Regions from separate parts of the Homo sapiens genome. Here regions 2, 3, 4, 5, 6 and 7 are each linked to region 1. The links are contacts of gene promoters, found by promoter capture Hi-C in blood cells and fetal thymus (Javierre and others, 2016). All regions are on one chromosome and are shown on one strand. The core of a region is centred on a gene start or on the middle of the fragment in contact, and the rest is flanking DNA. Distances in the headings are between cores, read along the strand shown.

The links. The method cuts DNA at HindIII sites, captures the fragments that hold promoters and counts their contacts. A CHiCAGO score of 5 or more calls a contact.
Region 2: a fragment that was not itself captured here is called in contact with the fragment with the promoter of CAMK1 in region 1 in 6 of 17 cell types (naive CD8 T cells, activated CD4 T cells, erythroblasts and 3 more); the score reaches 8.2 in naive CD8 T cells.
Region 3: a fragment that was not itself captured here is called in contact with the fragment with the promoter of CAMK1 in region 1 in 2 of 17 cell types (monocytes and activated CD4 T cells); the score reaches 5.5 in monocytes.
Region 4: a fragment that was not itself captured here is called in contact with the fragment with the promoter of CAMK1 in region 1 in 3 of 17 cell types (monocytes, erythroblasts and total CD8 T cells); the score reaches 7.0 in monocytes.
Region 5: a fragment that was not itself captured here is called in contact with the fragment with the promoter of CAMK1 in region 1 in 3 of 17 cell types (monocytes, naive B cells and activated CD4 T cells); the score reaches 7.5 in monocytes.
Region 6: a contact is called between a fragment that was not itself captured here and the fragment with the promoter of CAMK1 in region 1, in 1 of 17 cell types (neutrophils). The highest score is 6.8, in neutrophils.
Region 7: a contact is called between a fragment that was not itself captured here and the fragment with the promoter of CAMK1 in region 1, in 1 of 17 cell types (neutrophils). The highest score is 5.2, in neutrophils.

The regions. Positions count from the first base shown.
Region 1 is chr3:9,767,606-9,771,950 of GRCh38, reverse strand. CAMK1 (calcium/calmodulin dependent protein kinase I) reads left to right here and starts at 2,004. Exons shown (of 12, transcript NM_003656.5): 1 at 2,004-2,119; 2 at 4,170-4,284. The coding sequence starts at 4,202. It also overlaps a transcript of OGG1 not described here. RefSeq lists a silencer at 2,054-2,233. The HindIII fragment of the contact is 10,493 bases long and covers 1-3,352 here.
Region 2 is chr3:10,261,529-10,265,873 of GRCh38, reverse strand. All of the region lies in intron 3 of TATDN2 (TatD DNase domain containing 2), which reads right to left. Among named protein-coding and RNA genes, the nearest start is that of TATDN2, 15 kb to the right of the region's middle. RefSeq lists a silencer at 1,750-1,939. The HindIII fragment of the contact is 1,822 bases long and covers 1,604-3,425 here.
Region 3 is chr3:10,208,392-10,212,736 of GRCh38, reverse strand. It overlaps IRAK2 (interleukin 1 receptor associated kinase 2), which reads right to left. Exons shown (of 13, transcript NM_001570.4): 4 at 3,045-3,148. Among named protein-coding and RNA genes, the nearest start is that of TATDN2, 38 kb to the left of the region's middle. The HindIII fragment of the contact is 2,369 bases long and covers 539-2,907 here.
Region 4 is chr3:10,192,612-10,196,956 of GRCh38, reverse strand. The region is part of intron 2 of IRAK2 (interleukin 1 receptor associated kinase 2); the gene reads right to left. Among named protein-coding and RNA genes, the nearest start is that of IRAK2, 30 kb to the right of the region's middle. RefSeq lists an enhancer at 1-232. The HindIII fragment of the contact is 326 bases long and covers 2,134-2,459 here.
Region 5 is chr3:10,159,177-10,163,521 of GRCh38, reverse strand. No RefSeq gene overlaps it. Among named protein-coding and RNA genes, the nearest start is that of IRAK2, 3.6 kb to the left of the region's middle. The HindIII fragment of the contact is 1,059 bases long and covers 2,046-3,104 here.
Region 6 is chr3:9,384,842-9,389,186 of GRCh38, reverse strand. It overlaps THUMPD3 (THUMP domain 3 tRNA guanosine methyltransferase), which reads right to left. Exons shown (of 10, transcript NM_001114092.2): 10 at 2,396-4,345. It overlaps THUMPD3-AS1 (THUMPD3 antisense RNA 1), which reads left to right. Exons shown (of 4, transcript NR_132781.1): 3 at 1,060-1,100; 4 at 3,264-3,923. Among named protein-coding and RNA genes, the nearest start is that of THUMPD3-AS1, 9.6 kb to the left of the region's middle. The HindIII fragment of the contact is 4,058 bases long and covers 505-4,345 here.
Region 7 is chr3:9,442,855-9,447,199 of GRCh38, reverse strand. SETD5 (SET domain containing 5) reads right to left here. Exons shown (of 23, transcript NM_001080517.3): 11 at 3,783-3,892; 12 at 1,900-2,152; 13 at 1,460-1,543; 14 at 1-150. Among named protein-coding and RNA genes, the nearest start is that of SETD5, 47 kb to the right of the region's middle. The HindIII fragment of the contact is 4,722 bases long and covers 185-4,345 here.

The DNA of each region.
Region 1 (4,345 bases), core at 755-3,254:
CAGATACTTGGGAGGCTGAGGCAGGAGAATTGCTTGAACCCAGGAGGCGGAGGTTGCAGTGAGGCGAGATGGCACCATTGCACTCCAGCCTGGGCAACAGAGGGAGACTGTCTCAAAAAAAAAAAAAAAAAAAAAAAAAAGAAGTTGTACAAGTCCTCGAAAGGACAGAGGTCATCTTATCACCCAGGGGGTGTTGTCATCAAGATGAACAGGAATTTGTGGTAAAAGAACCCCTAGCTCAGTGGGTGTGCTTGGTGGGTATAGGGGAGAGTGGGGGCTCAGCCCTGAGCAGGAAATGTATTTTTCCATGAACTAAGGAGTCTGAGATACTGAGATTTGGAAGATGGATCCCTTAACCCCTCATCCCTGGCCAAATCAAGTCCTCTCTCTGAGTCTCAGTTTACACTGAGTCTAGCTCTCATGTTTTGAATAGTGTTCTAGGCACTTCATATCATTATATCATAGAATTCTCAGAACTCTGAGTCAATCTTCAATATTCCCATGTTCCCGAGTAAGAAACTGAGGTTCGGAGAGGTAAAGCATGACCAGGATCAGTTAGACTCCAAAGCCTTTCCAGGAACCTCAGCTATCTTCCTCTCTCATCTGTAAGATGGGCATAATAAATTGGCCAGGTGCAGTGGCTCATGCCTGTAATTCCAGAACCTTGGGAAGCTGATTGGGGAGGATTGCTTGAGCCCAGGAGTTTGAGACCAGCCTGGGCAATATAGTGAGATCCCCATCTCTACAAAAAATAAAAAAGCCAGGTGTGGTGGCACGCACCTGTAGTCCCATCTACATGGGAGGCTGAGGTAGGAAGATGACTTGAGCCCAGGAGTTTGAGGCTGCAGTGGGCCGTGATCATGCCATTGCACTCCAGCCTGGGTGACAGAGCAAGACCCTGTCTTAAAAAAAAAAGAAAAAGAAAAAAAGAAGAAGAGAAAGAAAGAAAAAAGAAAGAAAGAAAGAGAAAAAGGAAATGAGCTGGGCATAAGCACTGTTCTCTCCCCATCACCAGCTGGAACATGCAAGAATTCAGGAGTAGGGAGTGGCACTTGGAGGCCCTTGGAGGTGGAGTGGGGTCCCAAGCAACGTGCCTCCTCCGGCTGCCCCCAGTTCAGCCCCATCCCCAATTCCTGCGAGTTGCTCCCCCCGCCCCCTCTTTCCACTCGGCACCAAATTTCTTCCCAAGGAAGGCCTTGAGCAAACCGACCTTTGGCCTCTTGCCTGCCGTCCTAGTTGCAGGCTCTCTCCCCTAACCTGGACCCCAGCCATCAAACTCTGGAGCCCCGCCAGTCACGTGACACCTCGGTCCTTTTTGGCCTGTTTCCTTCAGGATCCCGATTTAACTTCCTCCTCCCCAATTCCCTCTGCCCCCAATACCTCTAGGCACCACCACCCGCTCTGAGGAGCAAGTGTCTGGGGCTGAAGCCTCAGCTCCATCTTGCAGAGGAACCGGGGCCTCAGTCTTCCCACCTGTCAAGTGGGGCCCACACCCTGCGACCACCTCCACTCTCTTCATTGCCTAGTCTTGCCCGGTCCTTCCCCACTCCCTCACTCCCCCATCCCCCACCAGACTCCCGTGCAGTTCCAGGGCCTGTTTCCCTTCAGGGCACGGAGAAGGGAGACAGAGCCCTAAGGGAGGTCGCAGAACTGGTCTGAAAGAAAATCCACCAGGCCACAGGGTGAGTTTGGCCGGCCTCTAGCTTCAGACAGACGGGGTTCGAATCCTGCTTTGCTTCCGACCACCCGCTGATTTGAAAATCATCTCTCCGGGCCTCAGTTGTCCCCTCTGTGAAATGGACCCCGCTTAAGACCAAGGGCGGGAAGCGTCCAGCAGGAGATCTCTGACCAGAAGCAGGGAGATGGCCTCCACCCGTGCCCCTTCCCCAGCCTTGGAGCGGTGCCTCGCCTCCCAATCCCGGGTCCCTCCGCCGCAGGCTCCACCTCCACTGACATCAGAGCCGCAGGCGGGCGGAGAGAGCCGCCGAGCCGAGCCGAGCCCCAGCTCCAGCAAGAGCGCGGGCGGGTGGCCCAGGCACGCAGCGGTGAGGACCGCGGCCACAGCTCGGCGCCAACCACCGCGGGCCTCCCAGCCAGCCCCGCGGCGGGGCAGCCGCAGGTACAGCCGGGCCCCCCATCCCTGCACCCCTGGGCGCTGCGTGGGGGCGGTGGGAGCCCCTAGCCTCTGGGTATCCTTTCCCAAGGAGTGGCCACTGGGCACTCTCCCGGGCGGGCTGGACCCTGAGGGGCAGGGCTGGGCCTTTCTCCACCTCTGTCCCAGGCCCAGCAGGTGCCAGGCGGGCCTATGGGACACTGAGTGGGTAATAGAGAAGGGGGCCTGTGTGAGCGCCTTCAGCTGGGCCTGACTGGAAGGGCGTGGGCATTTGGAGGTATCCATGGGGTGGGGGGGCTTGCGGAGTGTACTGTCTTAGGACAGGCGTGTGGGTCAGACATGGGTGGAGGATCTGGGAATCTGTGTGTTTTTTGTTCCAGAGGGGTGTCCACGTGTTTTGTGTGCTGGTATTTGGCTCTCAGGGTCTTAAGTCAGAGTTAGGAGGGGGTGTACAATTGTGTACTGAGGATGTTTGGAGTTAGGTGTGTAAGGACTTGGGGTTTGGTTTGGAATACAGGAGCTTCCAGGGGATGGGGTAGAGGAGCTGGAGGGTGTAGGGTACGTCTGGTATATGAGGGTGTGTGTGTGTGTGTCTGGGTGTCATCTTGTGTGGGTGCGGGTGGATGTGTGTTTTGGGGTGTAAGAGGGAGCTGGGTGAGGGATGTTTGGATGGACAGGCAGGTGTTCGGGTGCAGGGCTGTCTGGGGCACTGTGTGGTGTGGACATGTGTGCTGATGTCTGGGAGTACATGTATGATCAGGTGTCACGGGATGTGGATACAAGGCGTACTGGATCTGGGAGGCAGGTGTTTGAGTTCAGGGCTGTGGAGGGGGCTTGGTGTGGCATGTCTGCTACAGGGATGTGTGTGGATCTGTGAGGGTTGTATTTGGTAGGCCTCCATGTGGGTTTCAGACTCTGCCTCTAGAGCTTACACTCGAGTCTCCTTTCCTAGAAGATTCTGCCCCTGGATGGGTGGGCAGGGTCCCCTGGGAAAAAGGTCCTGTTCCAGGAGTGGAATCTCACACCAGAGGCCCTAGTCAGGGCACCTTCTCCTCATTCTCCCTTAGAGAAAAAGAGAGAAGGAAAGTGCTCTCCCTGAGGTCACAAAGCATGCTGGGCTCTGTTTTGGCCTCATCTGTGGATGGGTTGGGAGGCTGTGTTCTCTGAATGGGGCCCATTCTGGCTTCATATTGGAAGTACCAGCCAAGGCCATTCGATGGCCTTTGCCCTCAGCAAGCTTAGCTGGGGGCCCCAGGCCAGGTGTCATTAGGGCCTCTGGAGCCAGCCTCTACCTAACTCCAACCTCAGTCTCCCCATTCTTCATCTGATAAATGGGAGAGAACTCCCACCCTCTCCTGCTGGATGAGACAGACCTCAGCAGAGGAAGGGCCAGGCTGGATAGGGTTAGATGGGGCCAGGAAGGGACAGAGTGAGCAGGACCATTTCTCATGCTCCCGGGACCCAGATGGGGAGTCAGGAGGGAGAGGTCTGGGGAGCTCCAGCTGTGGCTGTTGTTGCTGTGGTAACAGTGCAGAAAGAGCTATTTAAAAATGTGGCTGAGATGTTGCTGGAAGCCCAGGCTGCTGGAAACCTGATTTCGGAGAGGCCGGGGAGTCGGGGGAAGGAGGAGGGAAAGGAGACACCCCAGCAATCCCCAGGGTGGGGCGGGGACATCACTGGTTCTGGGGACAGGGGGATCCTCCAGGCTTCTACCAGCTGCTCTGGGGGTTTATCTGTTGTACTGCCAGAAGTCAGGGTTTCCCTAGGTGCTTGGATTTGGATAGGGGGAAAACTGGGAAGAGAACTAGAATAAATGAATGAATGAATGCATGACTTTGTTAAATAAAGAATTTTGCTGCCACTGTGAAAGGTTTTTCTCTAGGCATGAGAATTTGCTGAATGTTGAATAAACAAATGAATGTTTGTTGAATGATTTTGTCAAATGGATGAATCAAGGATGAATAAATGCAGGTTGAATGACTGAATGGGGCCTGCAGTAAATTCCCAGACAGAGGGCTGGGCTCTGCTGAGTCTCCTCCTTCCATTCTCCTTACAGGAGCCCTGGCTGTGGTCGGGGGGCAGTGGGCCATGCTGGGGGCAGTGGAAGGCCCCAGGTGGAAGCAGGCGGAGGACATTAGAGACATCTACGACTTCCGAGATGTTCTGGGCACGTGAGTCCAGGGCAGGATTGGGTGCTGGATGGCTGAGGGAGGCTGAGTCCAGGGTGGGGCT
Region 2 (4,345 bases), core at 1,265-3,764, 490 kb before region 1:
AAGATCTCCAGACCCCTGCTCCCACCCTGTGCAGATGGCCTGCCCTTTCCCCACCCAGCAAAGGACAAAAGTTGATGCTTGGAAAAGTTAAACCAAGGGGACCACAGAAAAATAAAGGTGCAATGAGCTATGACCATGCCACTGCACTCCAACCTGGATGACAAAAACTTTTTTTTTTTTTTTTTTTTTTTTGAGACGGAGTCTTGCTCTGTTGCCCAGGCTGGAGTGCAGTGGTGCAATCTCAGCTCACTGCAAGCTCCACCTCTCAGGTTCACGCCATTATCCTGCCTCAGCCTCCCCAGCACCTGGGACTACAGGTGCACGCCACCATACCTGGCTAATTTTTTTGGATTTTTAGTAGAGACGGGGTTTCACCGTGTTAGCCAGGATGGTCTCGATCTCCTGACTTCATGATCCACCTGCCTCAGCCTCCCAAAGTGCTGGGATTACAGGCATGAGCCCCACGCCCAGCTAAAATTTTTAATTTTTAAAGTTCTGGCCGGGCGTGGTAGCTCATGCCTGTAATCCTAGCACTTTGGGAGGCCGAGGCAGGTGGATCACCTGAGGTCAGGAGTTCAAGACCAGCCTGACCAGCATGGTGAAATCCTGTCTCTGCTAAACATACAAAAATTAGCCAGGCATGGTGGTCCATGCCTGTAATCCCAGCTGCTCAGGAGGCTGAAACAGGAGAATTGCTTGAACCCAGGAGGCAGAGGTGGCAGTGAGCTGAGATCACACCACTGTATTTCAGCCTGGGCCACAGAGTGAGACTCTGTCTCAAAAAGACAAAAAAGAAAAAAAAATTGGCAGCAATAAAAAAAAAAAAAAACCACGCACAGGAAAAAAAAAAAAAAGACCAAAAAAAAAAAATCAACATAAACGTTAGAAGATAAACTTGAGCCAGGCGCGGTGGCTCACGCCTGTAATCCCAGCACTTTGGGAGGCCGAGGCGGATAGATCACCTGAGGTCAGGAGTTCGAGACCAGCCTGGCCAAAATGAAACCCCGTCCCTTCTAAAAATACAAAAATTAGACAGGCATGGTGGCATGCGCCTATAGTCCCAGCAATTCAGGGGTCTGAGGCGGGAGAATCGCTTGAACCTGGGAGGCAGGGGTTGCAGTGAACCAAGACCAAGCCATTGCACTCCAGCCTGGGTGGCAGAGTGAGACTCTATCTCAAAAAAAAAAAAAGAAGATAAAGTTGAAGAAACCATCCAGAAAAATTTTTTAAAAAGGATTCACTGGGAAGAAAAGAAAATTGGAATTTCCATCCGAAAGACCAAGCATAAAATAGATGGTCCAGAAAAAGAAGAAACAGACAAGAAATCAAATAATCAAGAAATTTTCCCAGAACTTTTCTAGGCTAAGGATGTACTGAACAAATTCGACTTATTTTACTCTTTCCTGAAACCTCACTAAAACTAAAGAATCTAAAAACCAAACAAAAAACAAATAAAACCCCTCTACAATAACAAAAACACCAGAACAGGAAGAACAAGAGACTACAGTGATCACGCACTGGAGGCTAGAAAGCAGATGGCCAAATAACACCTCACTGGCAGACCAAGAGAAGGCTGAGACCTAAGCTAGGCACCAGGAAAGCTTAGAACAGAGCAGGCACTCGCGGTACTGGGCACCTTGGGAACTGGAGGAACTGGAGTTACAGAAGAACATTAAAAGGAGGAGGACAGGGTGAAATCTGGTTTCCAATGAGTTAGATCCCAGATTCCCTCCTCATACTCAGAGAAGGTGAGTTGTTTGAAGACAGTAAAACAAGAGGATCTCTAGAATAAGGCCTGGTCAGCTCAGTGGAGGGCACTGGTACTGCACCAAAAAGACAAAGATTAAGTGAATGCTGACGCCGCCCCCGCAGCCGCCCCTTTCGCTACCCAGCTCCCAGCCACCTTTCCTCCTAAGCAGGCTGAAAAACACTCCTCTGGGCAAGGTGACCAGTCTCGAGGCTTTCCTAAAAGCAGTGACATGGCAAGGGGAAGAGGGTTATATTCTCCCGATCATCCCAAAGCAAAGCTCAAAGTCTTTACGCTCAGAGCTTCCAAACAGCTTTTTAATCCTCCCATTCTTGATCATAAACAGACAACCAAAGATTACCAGACATGTGAAGGCAGCCTCTAACACAGAAGAGATCAAAAGAAACGGAAAGAAGCAACTTAAAGAAAACTAAAACCAAGCCAAAAAACTACCATGAACTCCCTAAAAGAGATAACAGAAGATGAAACAAGAACAGAGATGTTATTAAAAAACAAAAGAGCTCTTGGATAATAAAAAGCATGACAGTAGAAAAGTAAAACTAAATAAACAGCTGGGTTGGAAGATAAAGAAAAGGAAATATCCTACAAAGTAAAGCAAGAAATTGGCTAGAAACAAGGGAGAAAGGCAATAAAATTACAGGACCAGTCCTGAAAAATCCAACATCCAAATAAGAGAAAGAAGGTAGAGAAGCTAGAGAGAGAAAGAGAGAAGAAAAATACGGAAAGAAAACATCAGCGAAGTACAGTAATTCACGAACTTTTCCCACAGCTAAAGTACAAGGGTTTCTAGATTGAAAGGGAATGTCCCATGCTAAGCAAAGTAGACACCACCACCATGAAATTTCAGAGCCCTGAGATCAAAATATATTCTACAAGATTCCACAGAGGGAAAAAAAAAAAAAATACAGGTTGGGCACGGTGGCTCACACCTGTAATCCCAGCACTTTGGGAGGCTGAGCCGGGCGGATCATGAGGTCAGGAGTTCGACACCAGCCTCACCAAAATGGTGAAACCCCATCTCTACTAAAAATACAAAAATTAGCCGGGTGTGGTGGCACATGCCTGTAATCCCAGCTACTCACAAGGCTGAGGCAGGAGAATCGCTTGAACCTGGGAGGTGAAGATTGCAGTGAGCTGAGATCACGCCACTGGACTCCAACCTGGGTGACAGAGCAAAACTCTGTCTCAAAGCAAAAGAAAATAAAAAATAAAAAATCATATACCAAGGTTCAGGAACCAGCATAGCTTCAGACATCAAGAAAACCAGAAGAGGCCAGGCGAAGTGGCTTACACCTGTAATCTCAGTACTTTGGGAAGCCTAGGCAGGTGGATCACCTCAGGTCAGAAGTTTGAGACCAGCCTGGCCAACATGATGAAACTCTGTCTCTACCAAAAATACAAAATTAGCCAGGTGTGGTGGCGTGTGCCTGTAATCCCAGCTACTCGGGAGGCTGAGACAGGAGAATCACTTGAACCCAGGAAGTGGAGGCTGCAGTGAGCCAAGATCACACCAGTGCACTCCAGCCTGGGCAAGACAGAACGAGACTCCACCTCAAAAAAAAAAAAAAAAAAAAAAAAGCCCAGAAGAAAAGGAGCAATGCCTTCAAAATCCCAAACAAAACAATTTCCAACCTGGAATTCCAAAACCAACCAAGCTTGTAATCAAGGTTAAAGGTAAAATAAAGGCAATCTCAGACACATGTTTACCAAAAAAAGTTTCTCCATGTACCCTTTCTCAAGAAGCTACTAGAAAAAGTATTCCACCAAAATGTGAGAGTAAACCAAGGAAGAAGAACATGAGAAGACACAGAGTATAGGTAGCAGAAGACTCAATCCGGGAGAAATGTGAAGGAGGCTCCAGAGAGACAGCTGCCAGCTGGCCTGACGGCAGGCAGTCCAGACCAGAGCAGGACAACAGAGGGCTGAGGACGTATACCTCCAAGAGAGAAAAAAAAGAAACAGATTCCTTATTTTGACAGTATTGAGAAGGATTTTACAGCTCTCGCAGTTTGGGGATTAATTAGTGAAAGGTACCAGGAAAACCAAAGGAAAAACAAAGTAATGATGAACTTTAAGGAAAATGAAGTTTTACAAGAAAGAAAATGTGATCAGAGTATACAAGGCGACTCAGCTGTGAACATGGCAGTAACAAATCTTACACAGACTTAACCCAAAAGGTATTCAAGCCACACAGGGAGGCTGCAGAAAGGGGAAGCTAATGTGTCCCTGGGTGTGGGTGCTTCTGAAGGAGGTATAGAGAACTAAATTCTCATCGCCCAAGCAAGAAGTCCTCAGACATCTAAAACTGAAAAACTGATCAACAGTAAAGATTATTTAGAAACATGGGGTAAGTACTAGAAGAAAGAGCTAAAGATGAGAGAAGCTGCCTGCAGAGCAGTAGTAAAGGATGGGTGGAGACGAGTAAGATGGAGGAATGTGGCCTGGCACAGTGGCTCATGCCTGTAATCCCGGCACTTTGGGAGGCCAAGGCAGGTGGATCACGAGGTCAGGAGTTCGAGACCAGCCTGGCCAACATGGAGAAATCCCATATCTACTAAAAATACAAAAATTAGCCGG
Region 3 (4,345 bases), core at 474-2,973, 440 kb before region 1:
CCAGCTCCATCTGTATCTTGCTCTGTGACCTTGGGTGAGTTACTTAACCTCTCTGAGCCTCAATTTTTTCCATCAGCAAAAATGAAGGTAACAATAGTACCCCGAAGAGTAATTTTGAAGACTAAGATGTGAGTATTCCTGGCACATGGTTGATGTTTCCTTTATTTCAGTTTACAGAAGTAAGCACTGAGGAAATAAAACAGCTGAAGTGAGGTCCCACAGCTGGTCAGTGGCCGAGCTCAGCACTCTTGGTCTAATTCACAGCATAGATACTGGGGTTCCAGACTCCTGGGAAGTAGGATACAGGTTCATATAACCAAACCAGGGGTGTCCAATTTTTGACTTCCCTGGACCACACTGGAAGAAGAATTGTCTTGGGCCACACATAAAATACACTAATACTAATGATAGCTGATGAGCTTTAAAAAAAAAATTGCAAAAAAAACTCATAATGTTTTAAGAAACTTTACAAATTTGTGTTGGGCCACATTCAAAGCCATCCTGGGCTGCACACAACCATGGGCAAGTAAGACAAGCTTGCTTTAAACAGAATTCCAGAGACTGCATGTGTATATAAGCCTATAAAAAGAAGTTCTGTTTCCGTTTTTAATAACTTCTCTCTTTAAAACACATGTACGTAATTTTTTTTTTTTTTTTGAGACAGAGTCTCGTACTGTCACCCAGGCTGGAGTGCAGTGGTGTGATCTCGGCTCACTGCAAGCTCCGCCTCCCAGGTTCACGCCATTCTCCTTCCTCAGTCTCCCGAGCAGCTGGGACTACAGGCACCCACCACCCTGTCCGGCTAATTTTTTGTAATTTTTTTAGTAGAGATGAGGCCTCACCGTGTTAGCCAGGATGGTCTCCATCTCCTGACCTCGTGATCCGCCCGACTTGGCCTCCCAAAGTGCTGGGATTACAGGCACGAGCCACCGCGCCCGGCCTAAATTTCAATTTTTTTAAGTTACATATGCTCTTAACAGTTTTTGAAAATTAGTATCCATAACCCCATTATCCATTTAACTGCTATTAAAGTTAGTGTATTTCCGGCCAATTAGATATACTAGGATTTATTTAACAAAACTGGTATCATGCCACACACATAGTTTTGATTTCTTTTTGAGACAGGGTCTCACTTTGACACCAAGGCTGGAGTGCAATGGCATGATGTCAGCTCACCGCAGCCTCAACCTCCCAGGCTCAAGGGATCCTTTCATCTCAGCGCCCCCAAGTAGCTGGGACTACAGGTGTGTGCCACCACGCCTGGCTTATTTTTTAAACTTTTTTTTTTGGCGAGGCCAGGCACAGTGATTCACTGCTTGTAATCTCACCATATGTGGGAGGCCAAGGCAGGCGGATCCTCTGAGGCCAGGAGTTCAAGACCAGCCTGGGCAATATGGTGAAACCGTGTCTCTACTAAAAATACAAAAATTAGCCAGGCGTGGTGGCACACACCTATAATCCCGGATACTCAGGAGGCTGAGGCAGGAGAATCGCTTAAACTGGGGAACCAGAGGTTTCAGTGAGTCGAGACAGCCTGGGCAACAGAGGGAGACTTTGTCTCAAAAAAACTTTTTGGCCAGGCACGGTGGCTCATGCCTGTAATCCCAGCACTTTGGGATGCTGAGGTGGGCGGATCACATGAGGCCAGGAGTTCAAGACCAGCCTGGCCAACATGGCGAAACCCTGTCTCCACTAAAAATACAAAAAAAAATTAGCCAAACATGCTGGCATGTGCATGTAATCCCAGCTACTCAGGAGGCTGAGGCAGGAGAATAGCTTGAACCTGGGAGGCAGAGGTTACAGTGACCAAGATCGTGCCACTGCACTCCAGCCTGGGCAATGGAGCGAGACTCCTCAAAAAAAACACAAAAACAAAAAAAACTTTTTTGTAGACACAGGATCTCACACTGTTGCCCAGGTTGGTCTCAAAGTACTGGGCTCAAGTGAACCTCCCATACCAACCTCCCAAAGTGTTGGGTTTATCCTTCATGGAAGGTTGATCTATTTATTAATTTAGAGATGGGGCCTCCCTGTGTTGCCTAGGCTGGTCTCCAACTCCTGGGCTCAAGCGATCCTCCCACCTCAGCCTCCCAAATAGCCAGGACTACAGGCATGTGACACCACACCTGGGACATGGAAGAGCTTCATTAACCACACTCATGCAAAGCTGGCTTCTCCCCCAGGCACTGGATGCAAAGGGTCTAGGCTCACAACACTTTTAGGGGCCATCAGAACATTTTAATTTATTTTAAAATCAGAAGAAAATAAATGGACTTTTAGAGTCAAAGAAATGTCCTCATTTTTAATCCTGCTTGGATTTTATTTATCTTCGTACCAATATGGTCATACATTTTTGGAGACAGGGTCTCACTCTGTCACCCAGGGTGGAATGTGGTGGTAGGATCACAGCTCACTGCAACTTCTGCCTCCTGGGCTGAAGCCATCCTCCCGCCTCAGCCTCCCAAGTAGCTGAGACCACAGGTCGAAAATAAAATAAAATAATAAAAGAAAATAATGGCCGGGTGCAGTGGCTCATGCCTGTAATCCAAGCACTTTGGGAGGCGGAGGCAGGTGGATCACCTGACGTCAGGAGTTCGAGACCAAGCTGGCCAACATGGTGAGACCCCGTCTCTACTAAAAATACAAAAAATTAGCCGAGCATGGTGACATGCACCTGTAATCCCAGCTACTTGGGAGGCTGAGGCAGGAGAATCACTTGAACCCGGGAAGCGGAGGTTGCAGTGACCCGAGATCGTGCCACTGCACTCCAGCCTGGGTGGCAGAGCGAGACTCTGTCTCAAAAATAATAATAATAACAAATTAAAAAACAAGAAGTATATTCACTGAAGTGCCCTCCCTCCCTCTCCCCGCTATTATTGACCTCCTCTACTTACAGTCTTAGAAGCTTGGGGTAATTTGATGGCAATTTCCTTTCTCCTCTCCACCCTTAAACTGGTCTCAAGGGGTAGAGAAATTGCATTTTTGAGAGGGAACTACACGCTGGGAGACATGGCTTGGGGGCTGCAGCCGAGGGGTGGATTTACCTTTGAATCAGACGAAGTGGGGAGGTCGCTTCTCAAGGAATGAGGGGCATCTTCTTCAGGAGGCTGGAGAAAGGCCGGCTGGTGGGCTCTGGCTGGAGAGGACCCTGGAAAGGAGGGACTATGGGTCAGGATGCAGCCTCGGGGAGGAAGACAGGAGGGATCCTGGTCTAGTCCTCAGACTATGCCAGTCTCCTGTTCACTCCCCAAACACTTGTTGCTGCCAATTCCTGACACCCACCATGTGCCAACCAACACACTCCTCAAGCATCACCTCAGGATAAGCCTCTGACTCCCCTACAACCTGGGGCCTGTTTATCATCCCAGTTGGCAAGTGGAGACACGGAGACACCGGAGGTAGACGCAGTGCTCAGGACCACCCAGCCAGTAGATGGTAGAGCCGAAATTCAGACGGAAATCTGTTTGACTTCTAGGCCCTGCACTATCTCACCTCCTACTCAAAGAGCAGAAAAAGACACAGAGGTGAACTAGCTACCAAGCCTGCCTTCCAGAAACCTCCACCAGGGCAGGGATGCAGTAACTATCCTCCGAGGATACATCCCACGGGAGAGCGAGGTCAGAGGCAGGAGAGACCATAACAGGCTGGGAGATGAGGAGGGTTCACAGAGGAAGTGGCACCTGACCTGGGCTTGAAATATGGAGAAACGTTTTCAACAAGCAGATATGGGGCAGTGGAACCAGCCCATGCAGAGGTGGGGCAGTAGAAGGGCCCGGGGCTGGAGTAAGTTAACATCTAGGTACATGAGTTAGCAAACATCATGCCAGGCACTGTTCTAAATACTTCACATCTGTAATACCAGCACTTTGGGAGGCTGAGGCAGGAGGATTGCTTCAGCCCAGGAGTTTGAGATCAGCTTGGGCAACATGACAAGATCCCGTTTCTACAAAAGATTTTTTTTCTTTTTTTTTTTTGAGATGGAGTCTCCCTCTGTTGCCCAGGCTGGAGTGCAGTGGCACAATCTCGGCTCACTGCAAGCTCCGCCTCCCGGGTTCACACCATTCTCCTGCCTCAGCCTCCCGAGTAGCTGGGACTACAGGCGCCCGCCACCACACCCAGCTAATTTTTTGTATTTTTAGTAGAGATGGGGTTTCACTGTGTTAGCCAGGATGGTCTCGATCTCCTGAACTCGTGATCTGCCCACCTTGGCTTCCCAAAGTGCTGGGATTACAGGCATGAGCCACTGCGCTCAGTCCTACAAAAGATTTTTTTTTAATAGCCAGGTATGGTGGTGTACACCTGTGGTCCCCTCTACTTGGGAGGATGAGGATCACTTGTGCCCAGG
Region 4 (4,345 bases), core at 1,047-3,546, 420 kb before region 1:
GAGAACTGAGTCTTCCAAGCTAGTGTGAGTAGCGTTTGCCCTGGGGACCCCTCTGGCTCCAGTGAGCAGACGATGAATCAGCCCTTCATGAGATTCAGATCCACCTCACTTCTGTTTTTCACCAACGAATGTCCACGTTGTGTATTGATACGTTCAATTCAAGCACCCTCCCCACAACCCTGGAGATCTCAAGTCAGGAAGCTGAGGCTCAGCGGGGAACAAGACCTGCCCAAGGGAAACAGGGAGGCAGGCAGCACTGAGGCAGGAAGGCGGGGTCTCCTCCCAGAACCACTGACGTAAGGGCACCCAGAGAACATGCACTTCTCTCCCAACCTGGGCTCCACGGGCACTTCAGTGGTTCTATAGGCCACACCCCCCCATCCTGATTGCCATCAGGCCAAGGCCTTTGTGGCTGAAACTCGGAGTCTAGAAGCCAGTTTCTCTCCAACAAGGGCCTTGCCTGCAGGAATCACAGGATCACTGTCTGCCTCATGGCATCCCACTGCCTTCCACAGGCCCAGGAGGAGAATAAACAGTCCCTAGGCCGGGCACAGTGGTTCACACCTATAATCCCAGCACTTTGGGAGGCCAAGGAGGGCAGATCACCTGTGGTCAGGAGTTCTGGACCAGCCTGGCCAACATGGCGAAACCCCGTCTCTACTAAAAATACAAAAATTAGCCAGGCGTGGTGGTGCACACCTGTAGTCCCAGCTACTCAGGAGGCTGAAGCAGGAGAATCGCTTGAACCTGGGAGGCGGAGGCTGCAGTGTGCTAAGATTGTGCCACTGCACTCCAGCCTGGGCAATAGAGCAAGACTCTGTCTCAAAAAACAACAACAACAGAAAACCAGTCCCTTGTACAGAATGACAATGAACAATGTCGGGGTGAGTGCTGATTCAAGCACGGGTCTGGAACAGAGCTGTCGCTCCCAGGGTGCACAGAAGTGAAAGCTCTGCCTGTGCTCCCTTGGAAGGCTACCCCCCGCCACTCCCAGTCCTCATCTTTCCCAGCCTCCCCTCTCTGGCAGGGAGAGACTGCCTCTCTCCCTCCACCCTCCCTCCTCAAACTGCCTCAAGTGGGGCTTATGCTCCTGGAAAGGCTTGTCATCCTTGTGACATCTGTGTCAAAAGGGCAGCAGTGGCTCCCCTGGCTCAGGGCCGGCTGGGCTCGCTGAAGTCACTTCCCAACAGTGACCTCCTGCAGAGGCCAGGCCCGCAACAGTATAAAATGCTCCCTAAAGGTCTCACCTACACCCAGAACCGCCCATGATCCCAGCAAATGAGGCACCTTCTCCTTGTCGGAGGCCTGCCTGGCTGAGCCTCATTGTTCTCATCACAGTAAAACGGGGATGAGGGTGATACTTACAGCCTTACTTAACTTCAGTGTCCTGTTCCTTTTTTTTTTTTTTGAGACAGGGTGTTGCTCTGTCACCCAGGCTATGCAGTGGTGTGATCACAGCTCACTGCAGCCTCAAACTCCTGAGCTCAAGCTATCCTCCTCTCTTAGCCTCCCATGCCGCTGGGATTACAGGCAACACCACGCCCAGCTAATTTTTAATTTTGTGTAGAGACAGCATCTCACTATGTTGCCCAGCCTGGGCTCAAACTCCTAGGCCCCAGTGATCCTCCCACCTTGTCCTCCCAAAGTGCTGGGATTACAGGCCTGAGCCACTGCTCCCAGTCCAGTGTCCTATTCAGGGTAATGTTTTGTTCAGCACAAATCTTTGCCTCTCTGTCAAAACACATTTGGCAGGAACATCAAGGCCACCAACCCATTTGTGGCCGACCTCTGTGGGCTCCACCCGTGGGGAAGATAAAAAATGTCATTATGTTTTCATCCTAAAGAGAGTCCAGCTTTTCTCTTTCTTTTTCTTGTTCCTTCTGCAGTGACATGCGGTGGCCCCACCTGGCACCACAGGGCATTTGGAAGTGAGCAGGAGTGAGGAACAGATGGGGAGGGGCGGTGTCGGCAGGGCTACCTGTGACCAGACCTGTCAGCACACTTGGGGCTAACATCCACCCTCCCACACAAGAGGCACCAGGTCACACCAGCCACGGATGTAAGCCAACAGAGCCCCATGTCAGCCCCAACAAGAAGTTCTGGTTTCCTGTGAAACCCCCATCTTCTCAAGCTTTGAGTTTTTAGATGTCTTTAAAATGCAAGCAATAAATGGTGCGTATAAACATGAACCGCCCTCATCTCCACCCTGGAGCTGCCGGCATGGTCTGAGCTGGGTGGACAGGCAGGCCCATGCATGCCTGTCCCACTGTCCAAACATGAAGATGGAGAAAATGGCCTCTGTCCTCATCCCTCCAAACCTGCTCCCTGCTAGCTAGAAAGACGCAACGCCCACTCATTCAGGCTGGCACACCAGAGAGCTAGTGAAATAAAAATAGAACACCAAAGGCAGGATGAGGCAAAGGAGGCCAAATGCCTACAAGAAAGGGCTGTGACAAGCTTTAACTCTCGCACTGAGCTTCCTATCTGCCAAGGCCAAGGCTCAGGAGTGAGCTGCTCACGGACTTCTTATCACAGATAGACAGGGGCAGCCTCAGGCTTCCAAGACAGCACTCTTTCCTCCCAGGATTAAATTCTCAAGAGAATTCCACACATAAAGTTGATTCTGCAGGATCATGAGATCCAAAAACACAGACTGTGATCAAAGAGTAGAACTAGGATCACAAGAGTAAGCGTGGGGAAGCGTCGGCTCTGGCTTGAGCCAGACCCAAGCTCTGCGATTCCAGCTTCACGCCCAGGCACAGACCTCCTAACCCTCTGAGCTTCATGCGCCTCTCCTGTGGAATCAGAATAATAACCCCACACCTCCCAGGGCCGTCCCAGGGCTCCATGATGACAAATGTGAAGTGGCTGGCCCAGGGCAGGGGCCCACAACACTGTGCAAACAGCCACCCTCCTTCAGTTCTGCCAGAAAGGTGCAGATAGAAAAGAACCTCTGATTCCCAACTCGGGCCTCCGAAGGAAGCATTTAGGGTGGAAGGCTATTTTTAACATTTTAAACACTCTAATGGAAACCGATTCTAGGTGGGCAGCAACTTGGTGCACAGTCCCGAGAGGTACAGTGGCCATGAGAGCAAAGTAACATAGGAGCCCAGCAGCAGGGGAGGTGGGGGCCTGTGCCCACGCCATTGGCAGCCAGCCTCAGTCACACACTGGAGGTGGGCAGCCCAGGGTTCTCCCTGCTGGGACCCCCAGGGATAGGAAGGGGACGCAGGTGACGGAAGGAACAGCTAATCTATAGCTTAGGTGGCCACAGGCACCAGAAGGTTGACACGGCAGTTCTCAGACAGAGTCTGGATTTTTTGTTTTTGTTTTTGAGGCAGAGTCTTGCTCTGTGACCCAGGCTAGAGTGCACTGGTGCAACCATAGCTCACTGCAGCCTCTACCTCCCAAGTTCAAGCAATCCTCCCACCTCAGCCTCCCAAGTAGCTGAGACCACAGGAGCACGCCACCACGCCAGGCTAATTTTGTTTTTGTTTTTGTTTTTGTTTTTTTTTGGTAGAGACAGGGTTTTGCCATATTGCGCAAGCTGATCTCAAACTCCTGGGCTCAAGCAATCTACCTGCCTTGGCCTCCCAAAGTTCTGGGATTACAGGTGTGAGCCACTGCACCCAGCCTGGAATCTGGATATCCGTGAAAGCTGCCTTGCTGAGGCTGAGAACCCACAGTGATGAGGGCTGAGTCCCAGATACAAGGAGGAAATGGGGGAGGGGCAGAAGCGCTTCTCTGTGCCCCTGTCATGGTTCACCAGAGCTGGTTGCCAGGCATGATTTCTTTTTCTCTCTGATTTGTTTTCGGAATGCCTGTGCTCTTCCTAATGAGCATGAATCACTGATGCCACGGAAGGCAAATGAACTCCCGCAGTCTGGAGTGTGTCCTGCAGTCAGGCTCACCAGCAGGGGGATCCTCCTAAGCCTTGGCTTCCTCATCCGACAAATGAGATGTGGAAGTGGACCCCCGACCCGAGACCAGCCATGAGGATAAAAAAATTAACACCCAGCAGATCTAAGCTACCATCATTTGCTATAGTCTCGCTCTGTTGCCCAGGCTGGAGTACAGTGGCACGATCTCTGCTCATTACAACTTCTGCCTCCTGGGTTCAAGCGATTGTCCTACCTCACCCTCCCGAGTAGCTGGGATTACAGGCAGACACCATCACGCCCGGCTAATTTTTGTATTTTTAGTAGAGACGGGGTTTTGCCATATTGGCCAGGCTGGTCTCGAACTCCTGACCTCAGGTGATCCGTCCGCCTTGGCCTCCTACTACTGTTATTATAATGACCACTCTAACTCTAGGTCAGGCTTTTTTTCCTAAGTTCTTGCCCAT
Region 5 (4,345 bases), core at 1,326-3,825, 390 kb before region 1:
TACACCTATAGTCCCAGCTACTCAGGAGGCTAAGGTGGTAGGATCTCTTGAACCCAGGAGTTTGAGGCTGCAGTGAGCTATGACTGCACTGCAGCCTGAGTGACAGAATGAGACCCTGTCTCTGAAAAAAAAAAAAAAAAAAAGAAAGAAAAGAAAGAATAAAAGTAGAGGGTGGTAAAAGGGAGTGCAAGTGGCCAATTGCATTATCTTAGATGATACTATTACTGGGAAAAAAGCAGAGTATGGTGCAGGGGACTGCAGGACAAACTGGATTATTAAATAGGGTATAAGGGGCTGGGTGCGGCGGCTCCCACCTATAACCCCAGCACTTTGGGAGGCAGAGGCAGGCAGATCGCTTGAGCCCAGGAATTCGAGACCAGCCTGGGAAACAGAGCAAGACCCTGTCTCTACAAAAATTAGCCAGGCATGGTGGCATGTGCCTGTAGTCCCAGGTACTTGGGAGGCTAAGGTAGGGGGATCACTTGAGCCCAGGAGGTGGAGATTGCAGTGAGCCAAGATTGCACCACTGCACTCCAGCCTGGGTGAGAGTGAGACCCTGTCTCTAAATAAACAAAGAGGGTACAAGGAACAGAATTTATAGTGTGTGTATACATATATATATATATATATATATATATATATATATATAAAATACACACACACATATATAAAATAGCTAGTATTTATTGAGCACTTACTATGTGTAGCCTTCACCTGGGTTACTTTACTTACTCCTTACAATGACCCTCTGAGGTAGGTATGGTTATAGCCCCATTCTACAAATAAGGAAACTAAGGCACAGAGAGGTTAAATAATATGGCTAAAATCATTTGAACCTAAGTATTCTGACCCCAGGCTCTCCATCACCACTGGCTAAAGTATATTGTAGATACAGATACATTTATCTGTATCTACAATGTACTTTGCAAAAATGATCTTATGTCATTCTTACAAGCCTATACTATAGATATTATTATCCCCATTTTACACAGAAGTAAATAGATTCCAAGAGGTTAGGCGAGGTCACGAAGGGCAGATAAGTAACTAGAGTAGGTACCACTGTATAGCTGTGGCCGTCAGCTATGGAGTAGCGCTGCAAAAGGAGGAAGCTGAAATCAAAGTGAGAAGTCCTAGGGCCAAGTTGCAGTTCTGCCACCAACAGGCTTTGTGACTCTGGACAACTCATTTCATTCGTCAAGCCTTGTTTCCAGCATCTGTAAAGTGGGCCTGCTCCTTCCTACTGCTTAGAGTTGTGAGGGGAGTGGAATAAATCAAATTATGTAGCCTATATAGAACACCTACTACAGGGCTTTCCTCGCACAGAGAATGTGCCCAAAAAATGGTAGCTGTCATTAGTGGTCTTGAAAAGGCACCCACTGGCCTTGGAGTCCTATCAAGTTTGGAGACCTGGTTCAGCCACTCTCCGGCTCTTAGTCCTTTGAGCCAGTTCTGTTTTCCCTTTTGGAAACTGGATCTCCTGCTGCAGCCACTTGGAAGGATTGTTATGAAGCCTAAATGGACTCCAAAACGCTCAAGATCAACTGTGAAGTGCTGAGCCCAGTAAAGGATTACTATTATGTCCTCCTTGATGTTGAAAGTGGGACATATTTCAGTGTTCTGAGACTACTTTTCAAGTGAAGTCCTGTGTTTTCAGCAGTGGCTGAAGGTGGACTTGGGAACTGTAATGATTGTTTGCCATAGGCTGGGTGGAGAAGCATCTCCATCCCAGGCACACGGGGGTAAAAGAGAATAAAGATCCTCTTCTTTTTCTCCTTTTCTCTTTTTGCAGAGTCCCCTACCTGCTTCTCCTTCTCTTCCGCAAGCAGCGTGTGTGTAGAGCTCCTCCCTCAGTGCCACAGGGCCTCTTCCCTGGGGTGAGGCTTTAAGACCACGGAAGTTTCACATTCAGCCTTGGTCAATCCTGGAAGGCAGAGGAGCCCCCACTGCTCTCTCTGCTGCATCCTCAGGCCCTTCCCGCAATTCCTTCTCACCCCAGCCTCAGGGCTTGGGATCTGTGTCCTAGGATTCTGTCTTCCAGAGAAGCTTGAGTCATTTTGGGCCTGAGCAGGTCATCACAGGGACACATCTCAGTTACCACTCTTTAGAATAAGTTCTTCAAAGTAAGGTCTTTGCTATTACTAATGGTTGCCCTTCACCTACCAACTCACCTAGCAGGCATTTAGCATACATTATCTGTAATCCATACAACCCTGCAAAGGTTTATTGTTTCTGTTTTACAGATGAAGAAACTGAGGCTGAAGTCAATTGTAACTGGGCCAAGTTGGCCAAGTGACAGTGAGGTAGGGGGCAGCACTCGACTCGAAAGGAATGGCTGGGACATCGGACCAAATTGAGGACTAGCTAAAACAGGTGTGGTGGGAAGTACCTCGCATAAGACACTGCCACCAGTGTACCTTGTCAGTTTACCATTGCCATGGCGACTCCAAGAAGTCACCGCCCCTTTCTAGAATGTTCTGCATAAACTGCCCCTTAATTTGCATATAATTAAAAGTGTGTATAAATGTGACTGTAGAACTGCCTCTGAGCCACTACTCTGGGCACACTGCCTATGGAGTAGCCCTACCCTGCAAGGAGCAGTACCTCTGCTGCGGCTGCACACTGCTATTTCAATAAAAGGTGCTATTTAACACCACTGGCTGGCCCTGGAATTCCTTTCTGGGTGAAGCTAAGAACCCTCCCAGGCTAAACCCCAATTTGGGGGCTTGCCTGTCCCGCATCAACAGGATGCAACTCAAGTCTGACCCAAAGCAAATGCTCTTTCTGCTGTGTTATACTGCCTCACCACAAGAAATTTCCTCTGATCTTGCAGTTAATTTCTTCCTCTGGCTATTTTCCATGACCAACACCCACCAGGATCAGTTAGAAACAGTTATTGAGGCTGAATGTAATTAATTACACACTTACGTCATTTTGAGCTGTTCAAGTTTAATTCCCTTGAAATTATAGTCAGTGGTTTGCAACCCTGGCTGCACAGTAGAAACATCTGGGGTGCTTTTAAAAAGTATAAATGCCTAGCCCTACCTCCAGGGAGACAGATTCAATTATTCTGGAGTGGGGCTCAGGCACTACTGTTTTTTAAAGCTTCCCAGATAATTCTAATATGTGCTGGCACAGTTGAGAACCAGTCATATCAGAAAGCTGGGGCAGAGGCCAAGCATGGTGGCTCATGCCTGCAATCCCAGCACTTTGGGAGACCGAGGTGGGTGGATCACTTGAGGTCAGGAGTTCGAGACCAGCCCAACCAACACGGCGGAACCCCGTTTCTACTAAAAATACAAAAAAATTCGCTGGGCGTGATGGCACGCACCTGTAATCCCAGCTACTTGGGAGGCTGAGGCAGGAGAATCATTTGAACCCGGGAGGTGGAGACTGCACTGAGCCAAGATCATACCACTGCACTCCAGACTGGGGGACACAGTGAGACTCCATATCAAAAAAAAAAAAAAAAAAAAAAAAAAAGCTGGAGCAGGAGGGAAGACTGATGAAAGGAGAATAATAAAGCTTCTCTATGCACTTTGCATATATTTTTCTTTTTTTTTCTCTCTTTTTGAGACGGAGTTTTGCTCTTGTTGCCCAGGCTGGAGTGCACTGGTGTGATCTTGGCTAACCGCAACCCCTGCCTCCTGGGTTCAAGCAATTCTCCTGCCTCAGCCTCCTGAGTAGCTGGGGTTACAGGCATGTGCCACCACACCCAGCTAATTTTGTATTTTGAGTAGATACGAGGTTTCTCCATGTTGGTCAGGCTGGTCTCAAACTCCTGACCTCAGGTGATCCACCCACCTCGGCCTCCCAAAGTGCTGGGATTACAGGCATGAGCCACCGCGCCCGGCTATATTTTTTTTTAACAAAAATATCTTTATTGGTTTCTCTGATAGCATGTGATATTTGTCAAAGACAGAAAGAAAGAGAAAACAAACACCTTCCCATAACCTCATCCCTGAGGAATCACCATTATTGTTTGGAGTATATACTCCTTTTACATGTTTTTAGTCCTATACAAAATGATTTTTTTTTTTTTTTGAGAAGGAGTCTCACTCTGTCACCAGGCTGGAGTGCAGTGGCGAAATCTCGGCTCACTGCAACCTCCGCCTACCGGGTTCAAGTGATTCTCCTGCCTTAGCCTCCCAGGTAGCTGGGACTACAGGCGCATGCCACCACACCTGGCTAGTTTTTTGTATTTTTAGTAGAGACGGGGTTTCACCACGTTGGCCAGGATGGTCTTGATCTCTTGACCTCGTGATCTGCCCACCTCGGACTTCCGAAGTGCTGAGATTACAGGCGTGAACCACCGTGACTGGCCAATTTTTTAAACATATTTTCTTTT
Region 6 (4,345 bases), core at 1,284-3,783, 380 kb after region 1:
TAAAGCAACTTGTCATTAAAGATGTGTGTGCAGACATGGATTCTGAGTTAATATCTCATCTGTAGAAGTATATATTTGTCCCTTGCTTTGGGATTGGTTTCTGGACAGCACTCCCCCACCCTTGCTGGCCATTTGCCAAGGACACCAAAACCCAAGGATGTTGAATTCCCTTTTATAAAATGGCGCTGTATCTGCATACAACTTACACACATCCTCCCATATACTTTAAATCATTTCCAGATTTCTTATACTTCATACAATGTGAATGCTATATAAATAGTTGTTACATTGTGTACTTATATTTGTACTATTGTATTAAATATTCTCAAATATTTTCAAGCACATTTGGTTGAATCTGCAGATGCAGAACCTGAGGATATGGAGGGCTGACTGTGCTAATACGTTATCAATGGATGCGTGCATAAACATGGCTGGACTTGTTACTTGGCTTGTATTTGCCAGGCATCAGCACCAACTAGTTAAAGATACTCTTACGTGAAAGCTTGGCAACAAACACATGTCCTGAAATAATGCAAGTGTAGAATAACTTTTTAAAATCTCATGGTTTATGCTAAACTATATGTTGACATAAGAGTGGTGATAAGGCAACAGTAGGTAAAAGTAAAATTTCAGGCACCTTGGCACAAACTGTGGCAGTGGCATCAAACTCTAAGTTATTTTTCACTGCCATGCATTTGTGGTGTGAACCCCCACAAAAGAAAAAAACCAGTTTCACTCAAGAATGTCCTTGTGAAAGCAGTGACATTTTGTTAAATCTTAAACCCTACAGTACATAACTTTTTGAAATGGTTGTCTCAAGAAAAAGCACTCATGTAAGCTGAATTATCTGCTATTTCCTTGGAGCCTAACAACTGACAGCAATTGTTTTCAATGATAAAATCCAAACGTTGAGTCAAAATCAGAATTTCGGGAAAACTTGTGTCTAATATCAGGAACTTGACAGCTTCCCAATACTTCATGAGATAGTGATATTGAAAATAATTTTTTTTTTTTTTTGGGACATCTGGCTGACTGCAACCTCTGTCTCCTGGGTTCAAGCAATTCTCCTGCCTCAGCCTCCTGCATAACTGGGACTACAGGTGTGTACCACTGTACCCGGCTAATTTTTGTATTTTTAGTAGAGATGGGGTTTCACCATGTTGGCCAGGGTGGTCTTGAACTCCTGACCTCAGGTGATCCACCTTGGCCTCCCAAAGTGCTAGGATTACAGGTTTAAGCCACTGTGCCCGGCCAATGATATTTTAGGTAGTATACAGTAAAATGGGCCAACATTTGGGAGATTGACATAACTCAGTGAAGCTATATTTTCCTAATGACTAATACGTGAGATTATAGAAAACTGCTAGTAACATTGTAACCAATTGAATGCAAAAGAAACAATTCAGTTGTCTTCTATTTAAGTCAGACATTTAGGGAAACAATTGCCAAAATGTAAAACAATGCACCTATTTTTTTAAAAATATGCATTTGTTGCTATAATATTTAAATATTTTACTTTCTAATATGGTAAGATACTAGTAAAGTGATTTGGGGCCCTCAATCTTTAAGAATGTGAAGGGATTCTCTGAGGCCACAAAGTTTAAGAAATGGCTACTCTAGCACAAACGCACATAGTAAATACTCAAGTACCTGTTGAATGACTTCATGGAGTTAAAGTGACTCCTGGTATTAAATCTGTATGGCTGGGATAATGGGCATGCTAGGACAGGAAGCAGATTTCCTTAACTTCACCACTGTAACTCATTAACAAACATGTTAGCCTGAGACAGAAGTATTAAGGGGCGACAGGAAAGCCTTTCATAAGCAATGTGATGCTTTTTTTCACATTATTCAACATGGTTTAAAATTTGGTATACAGGCCTATGGTGTTTGTCCTGAACTTTTGCCAGAGTAGAATGGTTCATGTTTTTCCTCATAGATTTTCACTCCTCACTAAACTTCATGACATCTAACATGAACTTATTAGAAAAGGCTATGCTTGAGAATAAGGATATCTTTTTTCTATGCCTATGTTGTTAATGAGTATGAAGCACTTACAGGCTTTTATGTACTTGAGGTTCCAAAGACATTTCCAAATTTTCCCATTTTCAGTCTTCAACTTAACATTTTGGTCCTTGCAGTGGAGACCTGAGTCCTATCTGACATTGGGACTACAGTTAGGGCAGAATTTCCTAAACTGCCATTTTTTAAAGAAATAAGGGTAACCAAATGTTCCCCTTAAAAGCACTCTGGTACCCTCTAGTATTGGGAGATAACTATCTTCCCCTAATTAGATTTGTAAAATCTTTCTCAATATTTATTTACATTTTTTTCCCCTCAAATATATTGACTTTTTCATTCCCAGTAACAATATGTCTGGTCTGTAACTAAGTCATTCCATGTTCAGATTACAGATTTATTTCCCCATCTTTTCACATTCTTTTAGTCCAGGAGACCCACTTTGAAGGTTAAAACCAAGGTCACACAATGAATAGGTGGCAGTGTCACATATAACTCAGCTCCAGGCCTTATGAATCCTGCTTATAGCCCACTGCCTATTCTAGTCACCAGATTGAAAAACACCATACTAGGGAAGAAGACGGCAAACTATTGCCCACTACATATTTGTATCAGTCTTGTCAAATTTTTATTGTAGTATGTAATAGAATTAAAGCTATGATGAATCAAGTAAAAAATGATTTCCTTAAAAACTAAGCTAATAGGCGAAAATACTCGCTTGTTCAACAAATACCCAGTCTGGCAGATACAATACCCTGCCCTTAGTGGGGGGTGGAGTGGGGGGTGGGGGGGTGGGGAAAGACATCGTGGTGAAAACAGACATGGTCCTTGAACTTCCTGGTTCTGTGGGTTGCTTAATTTGAGGTTTAAATGGTTTCTCCCATCAGGTGAAAAGTTTTGTGTTCGGCCCATAAACAAAGCAGCTGTGAATTCTGATAGTGGTAAAAAGGCCAGTCTAGGATATAAAACCTTCATAAACATCTTATTTCCCATTCATTATGAAGTGTGGGGTAGGAGATCAGAGAAACCAGATGAGGATTGCTGGCTGTGCTGCTAATGTGAACTCTTCTTTCAAAAGTATTGTGTCCTTTTATTCTCAATGGAGACATCAGAAAGTATTAAGAGGAGTACTATTATAATACTAATAGGATACTGAAAATCTATACTGATTGCAGCCAGAGGCTCCAAAATAAACAATACTATGATGAGTTCCACAAAAAAACCTCAACTACTCTTTGTTCCAGGGAAGCACCATTTTCCACAAAACTCTCAAGAAGGACTTGTTGCAACTGGAAAAGCAATTAAATGTGAATCGTGATCCAGGAGAAAGTAACAACTCACATAACTCCCAAATTAAAAGTTTTCCAAAGATATATCATTTTTTTTCTCTTGGCCTTTTAAGAAACTAGCCAACAAATACTCTTGACAGGTTTGTGTTTGGTTTTGAAAACACACACCTTAGTGTACTGAAAGAAAAACAATTTCTTTTAATTTGGTTTGTTGGTCCCACACCCCATCTATCAATGTATGTGCTATTTACAAATAAGTTCTATACAGTATTTTTGCAGTACCTTTGATAATTCCTAGACCTCTATTTTCATTCTGTGTATTAATGTGAATAACAGATGGATATTTTAATATTTAAGGCAGATGGTAAACTTTCCTATAGGTCTTGTGAGACTTCGTCTTATAGGCTGAACACCATTCACAAAATGTAATAATGCTTCATTCCTTCAGGTTGAGGTAAAGAACTTGAGCAACTGGATTAGCAAAGCTGCAAAGAATGAAATGTGGCCTAAGATGTAATTATGTTCTCTGCCCTTCCTTTGGGCCAGGGTAGTTTTGCACTTGACACAATGGAAAATAGGCCATAAAGCCTGAAAATAAAATGTTCTAAACCCCAATCTCACAGCACTTTAGTAGGCTTTTCACTAGGCATCTTTAAAGTATTTTCAACAAAATACTAATTAAGCTACCACTTCAAAAGAGCTTCAAGGAAAAGCTCTGCTTTCTTATAAAATCTTTTTGAGACAGAGTTTCGCTCTTGTCGCACAGGCTGGAGTGCAATGGCGTGATCTCGACTCACCGCAACCTCCGCCTGCTGGGTTCAAGTGATTCTCTAGCCTCAGCCTCCTGAGTAGTTGGGATTACAGGCGCCCGCCACCACACCTGGCTAATTTTTGTATTTCTAGTAGAGACAGGGTTTCACCATGTTGGCCAGGCTGGTCTCCGGACCTCAGGTGATCTGCACACTTCGGCTTCCTAAACTGCTGGAATTACAGTCGTGAGCCACTGTGCCTGGTCTCATAAAACTTTTAAATTCCAT
Region 7 (4,345 bases), core at 1,296-3,795, 330 kb after region 1:
TGTCTCTTCACCAACAGGAGTCTCTGAGGTGGTTGTAGTAATCTCTACATCAGAGTTGCTCTGTTCCAAGGGCTGATCCCGCCGCTTCTTTCTTTTCTCTAAGTTTTCAAAAGCATGCATGATGGCTTCTACCTTTCTATCTTCCCTGGTCTAGAAAGAGATAGTACTGGTGTAGAAGGAAGCTTCAAATGAGGACGAGTGGATAGCTTTTATAAAAGTATTTTTAATGGAAATTTACAGAAATTCATTTAACTACCAGTAAGATGACACATATAACTTGGAAAACAGAAGATTAAAAATAAAATATTTCATTTTAAATGTGGGGAATAGTTGTAAATAAAGGCAAGGTCAAACATAAACTTTTCAAAAAGGGTCAGTTATTTTGAAACTTTAATATGAAAGAAAAACAGGATGGGTGCAGTGGCTCACGCCTGTAATCCCAGTACTTTGGGAGGCTGAGGTGGGAAGATCATGAGGTCGGGAGATTGAGACCGTCGTGGCCAACATGGTGAAACTCCGTCTCTACTAAAATACAAAAAATTACCCAGGCATGGTGGCGCATGCTTGTAATGCCAGCTACTTGGGAGGCTAAGGAAGGGGAATTGCTTGAACCCGGGAGGCAGAGATTGTGGTGAGTTGAGATTGCGCCACTGCACTCCAGCCTGGTGACAGAGCAAGAGTCGGTCTCAAAAAGAAAAAAAAAAAAGTCATCAAATCAGGGTCATAAACACACAGGATTGGTTTCAGCATAAAAGTAGAAAATTTTAGTTCATATGACTAAAAGGGTTTAAAAAAACTTCAGAACTCACAAAAACCTAGAAAATTCCTAATTCAGAGCAAACCAACTATAATACATTTTGATTCTGACCAGCCAGTTTTTCGGAAACCAGATTTTTTTTTTTTTTTTTTTTTTGAGATGGAGTCTCGCTCTTTTGCCCAGGCCGGAGTGCAGTGGCGCTATCTCCACTCACTGCAAGCTCTGCCTCCCAGGTTCATGCCATTCTCCTGCCTTAGCCTCCCGAGTAGCTGGGACTACAGGCACCCGCCACCGCGCCCGGCTAATTTTTTGTATTTTTAGTAGAGACAAGGTTTCACCGTGTTAGCGAGGATGGTCTCGATCTCCTGACCTCGTGATCCGCCCACCTCGCCCTCCCAAAGTGCTGGGATTACAGGCGTGAGCCACCGCGCCCAGCGGAAACCAGATTGTTAGTAAAAAAAAAAAAAAAAAAAAAAACAACCTCTTCAAACCATCACTAGATAATAATCACTACAAAACTACTGTGTGTATAGAGAAAAATAAATAAAAAAATTATAATAAAATCTTTATTACGGAAAAAGCCCAAATTATAACCTTCAGGTCAAATCAATGAGATGATACAAAGTCAAGAGAACAGAAGAGGTTCACATGATGGAGGTAGCAGGAATGAGAAGGAGCAAAGTAATGTCAGACAGTACTCACCCTCCTGCTATGAGCTAGGTTCTCCTGGTCATCTATAACCTCTTCTTTCTCTTCTTCTGGTTTTTCTTCTGGATTGTCTACTTCCTTTAAGATAGAGGCAATATTCAGCTGTACTCAAGCTCTGAGAAAAAATCAATCTGTTTTATTCTGGTAGCTTAAAACTCTCTATAACAATCTCTAGTGCTTTAAACTGTTAACTCATGTGAGGCCACATGGTAAACACAGATGATAACTAACCCCTATTCTCTGGTGCAAAACCAGCAAAGGATGTTTTTGACTTTGTAAAACAGAAAGAAATGTATGAACACAATAAACCCACATTGATATAAAGGGCACTAAGTGTTACTATAGCTCCCCTACTTAAACCATGCGGCAACCCGGGTTCCTCTTCCTTTGGAGGATTGATGCCATAGCATCATCATTTGACCAGGGGCGATTACCTCATGATCACTGGATACAGTTACTTTTTCTGGAACTTCTTGTGATTGCTGGTCATTATTCTCCTCTGAAGCCTCATTCTGCTGCTCCATCTCTAGCTCTTTCCGTCGTGCTTTTCTACGTCTAGTCTCTGCTCCAATGGTGGGTAGGCTTGGAGGAGGTGGTAGGAGTGGCAGTTCTGTAGCATTAGGATTCCTTTTTTGTATAGGACAATTCCGGTTTCCCTTGTGACAGGCACAGTCCACTTTATAATTACTGCTCCAAAGAAACAACCAAAATGCCTGTCTCAGTACCCTTGAAATTCAGTTACATTATCCATTCACCCTCTTAAAATATCAGTACAGTAACTTCCTCTGATATTGTCTCTGAATAAGTTAAACAGAGACATTAGAGAGTCCTATAAATACTTTTGTTTTTCTTTTTATTGGAGACGGAATCTCGCTCTGTCATCTAGGCTGGAGTGCAGTGGTGCATCACAGCTCTCGGTAATCTCTGTTTCCTGGGCTCAAGTGATCCTCCTACCTCAGCCTCCTGAGTAGCTGGGACTACACGCCCAGCTAATTTTTTTATTTTCGGCAGAGACGGGGTTTTGCCATGTTGTCTAGGCTGGTCTTGAACTCCTGGGCTCAAGTGATCCTCCAGCCTTAGCCTCCCAAAGTGCTGGGATTACAGGCGTCAGTCACCGCGCCTGACGTAACACTTTCAATATTCTGTCTTTCTTTGTGTAACCCCAATTCTACTCCATGGTCAGTGGGAAAAAAAAAAGAAAGCCCTCCCTAAATTCAATCCCCCCAGTGGTTTATTGGCTATTTAGCAGGCAGTTTATCAATGATAAAGTCTGATGTGGCCATACTCATCTTGTGCCCACGATTACCATGTCCTCACTTTTACCTACTAATTCCCTACTTCTTAAAACCTTTTATAACCTTCTTAAAACCTTTTTTATTTTCCTTGATGAATTAAGCAGAACATCTTTTTTCCTTATACCTGGGCCAAACATCACTTTACCACATAACCTCTATTTTGCCCCAAATGACCAAAGAACAAAAAGCATATACTTTAAAAAATCCCACATATTCATCTATGAATTGCCCTTTATGGTTTTCTGCACTGTCATATACAGCTAGATAACATGGTTTCTGTGGACAGGGTGGATCTTTAAATCTCACCCCTAGCTTTATAAGGGTATAATTGACAAATTAAAAGTAGAGGTAACATATTAAATTCTCTCTCTTTTTTTTTAAGACAGAGTCTCCCTCTGTTGCCAGGCTGGAGTGCAGTGGCGTGATCTTGGCTTACTGCAGCCTCAGCCTCTCAGGTTCGAGTGATTCTCCTGCCTCAGCCTCTCAAGTGGCTGGGACTACAGGCGTGTGCCGCCACGCCCAGCTAATTTTTGTGTTTTTAGTAGAGACAGGGTTTCATCATTGGCCAGGATGGTCTCGATCTCCTGACCTCGTGATCCGCCCGCCTCAGCCTTCCAAAGTGTTGAGATTACAGGCCTGTGAGCCACTGCGCCTGGCCTAAATTCTCATTCTATATGGTCCCTGACATAAGTACTCTGTGCATAACAACAGGATGCTATTGTAATTTCCAGGAGTGTCTCATACATACATATATATCCATTTTGCTATTCTTGCTAAAAAGGCATAAGCGAAAACACTTCTGTCAGGAAATTTGTGAGCAGTATCATACAAGGTATCCGTATCTCTAAAAAAAATCTTGCCTGTCTTTTCCTTTACAATTTCTAGGCAGAAAATTCATTAGTCATGAAAAGATTAAGTAAACAAAGGAAAAGGCAAGAAACAAGAGCAGACTTTAAATAGAGTGAATAGCTTAATATGTAAGACATGGATATTCCTGTTAGGAAAGGTTTCTGAGGTCTTACCAGTTACTATACTCATAATCAAATGCTATGGTGACCTCAGCATCCTTGGTGATGGCAGACACAGCATAGATGCACAGGTGAATCATCCCATCTGCAATCATGTGTCGCACCTGTGTGAAAAGGCTTCTGGTTGGATTTTTCATAAAGACCATGAACTTTCCGTAAGAGAGAAAAAAACCATACTTTCTCTCCATTTGGAGTTATGGTAATCTATTATTTATTTAAGGAGTTATGGTAATCTGTTATTTAACCCCTTCATTTCATCTGAAACTATTATACTGCACTGGCTTGAAAATTTATAATACTTTCTTAAATATGTGGAGAAACCTTGAGATGTTAGAAATCAGGGTAAAATCTCTACTTTCACATCTTTTTTTTGAGATACAGTCTTGCTCTGTCGCTCAGGCTGGAGTGGAGTGGCGTGATCTCGGCTCACGGCAACCTCTGCCTCCCGGGTTCAAGCAATTCTCCTGTCTCAGCCTCCTGAGTACCTGGGAATACAGGCACACGCCACAATGCCTGGCTAAGTTTTCTATTTTTTTTTAGTAGAGACGGGGTTTCAC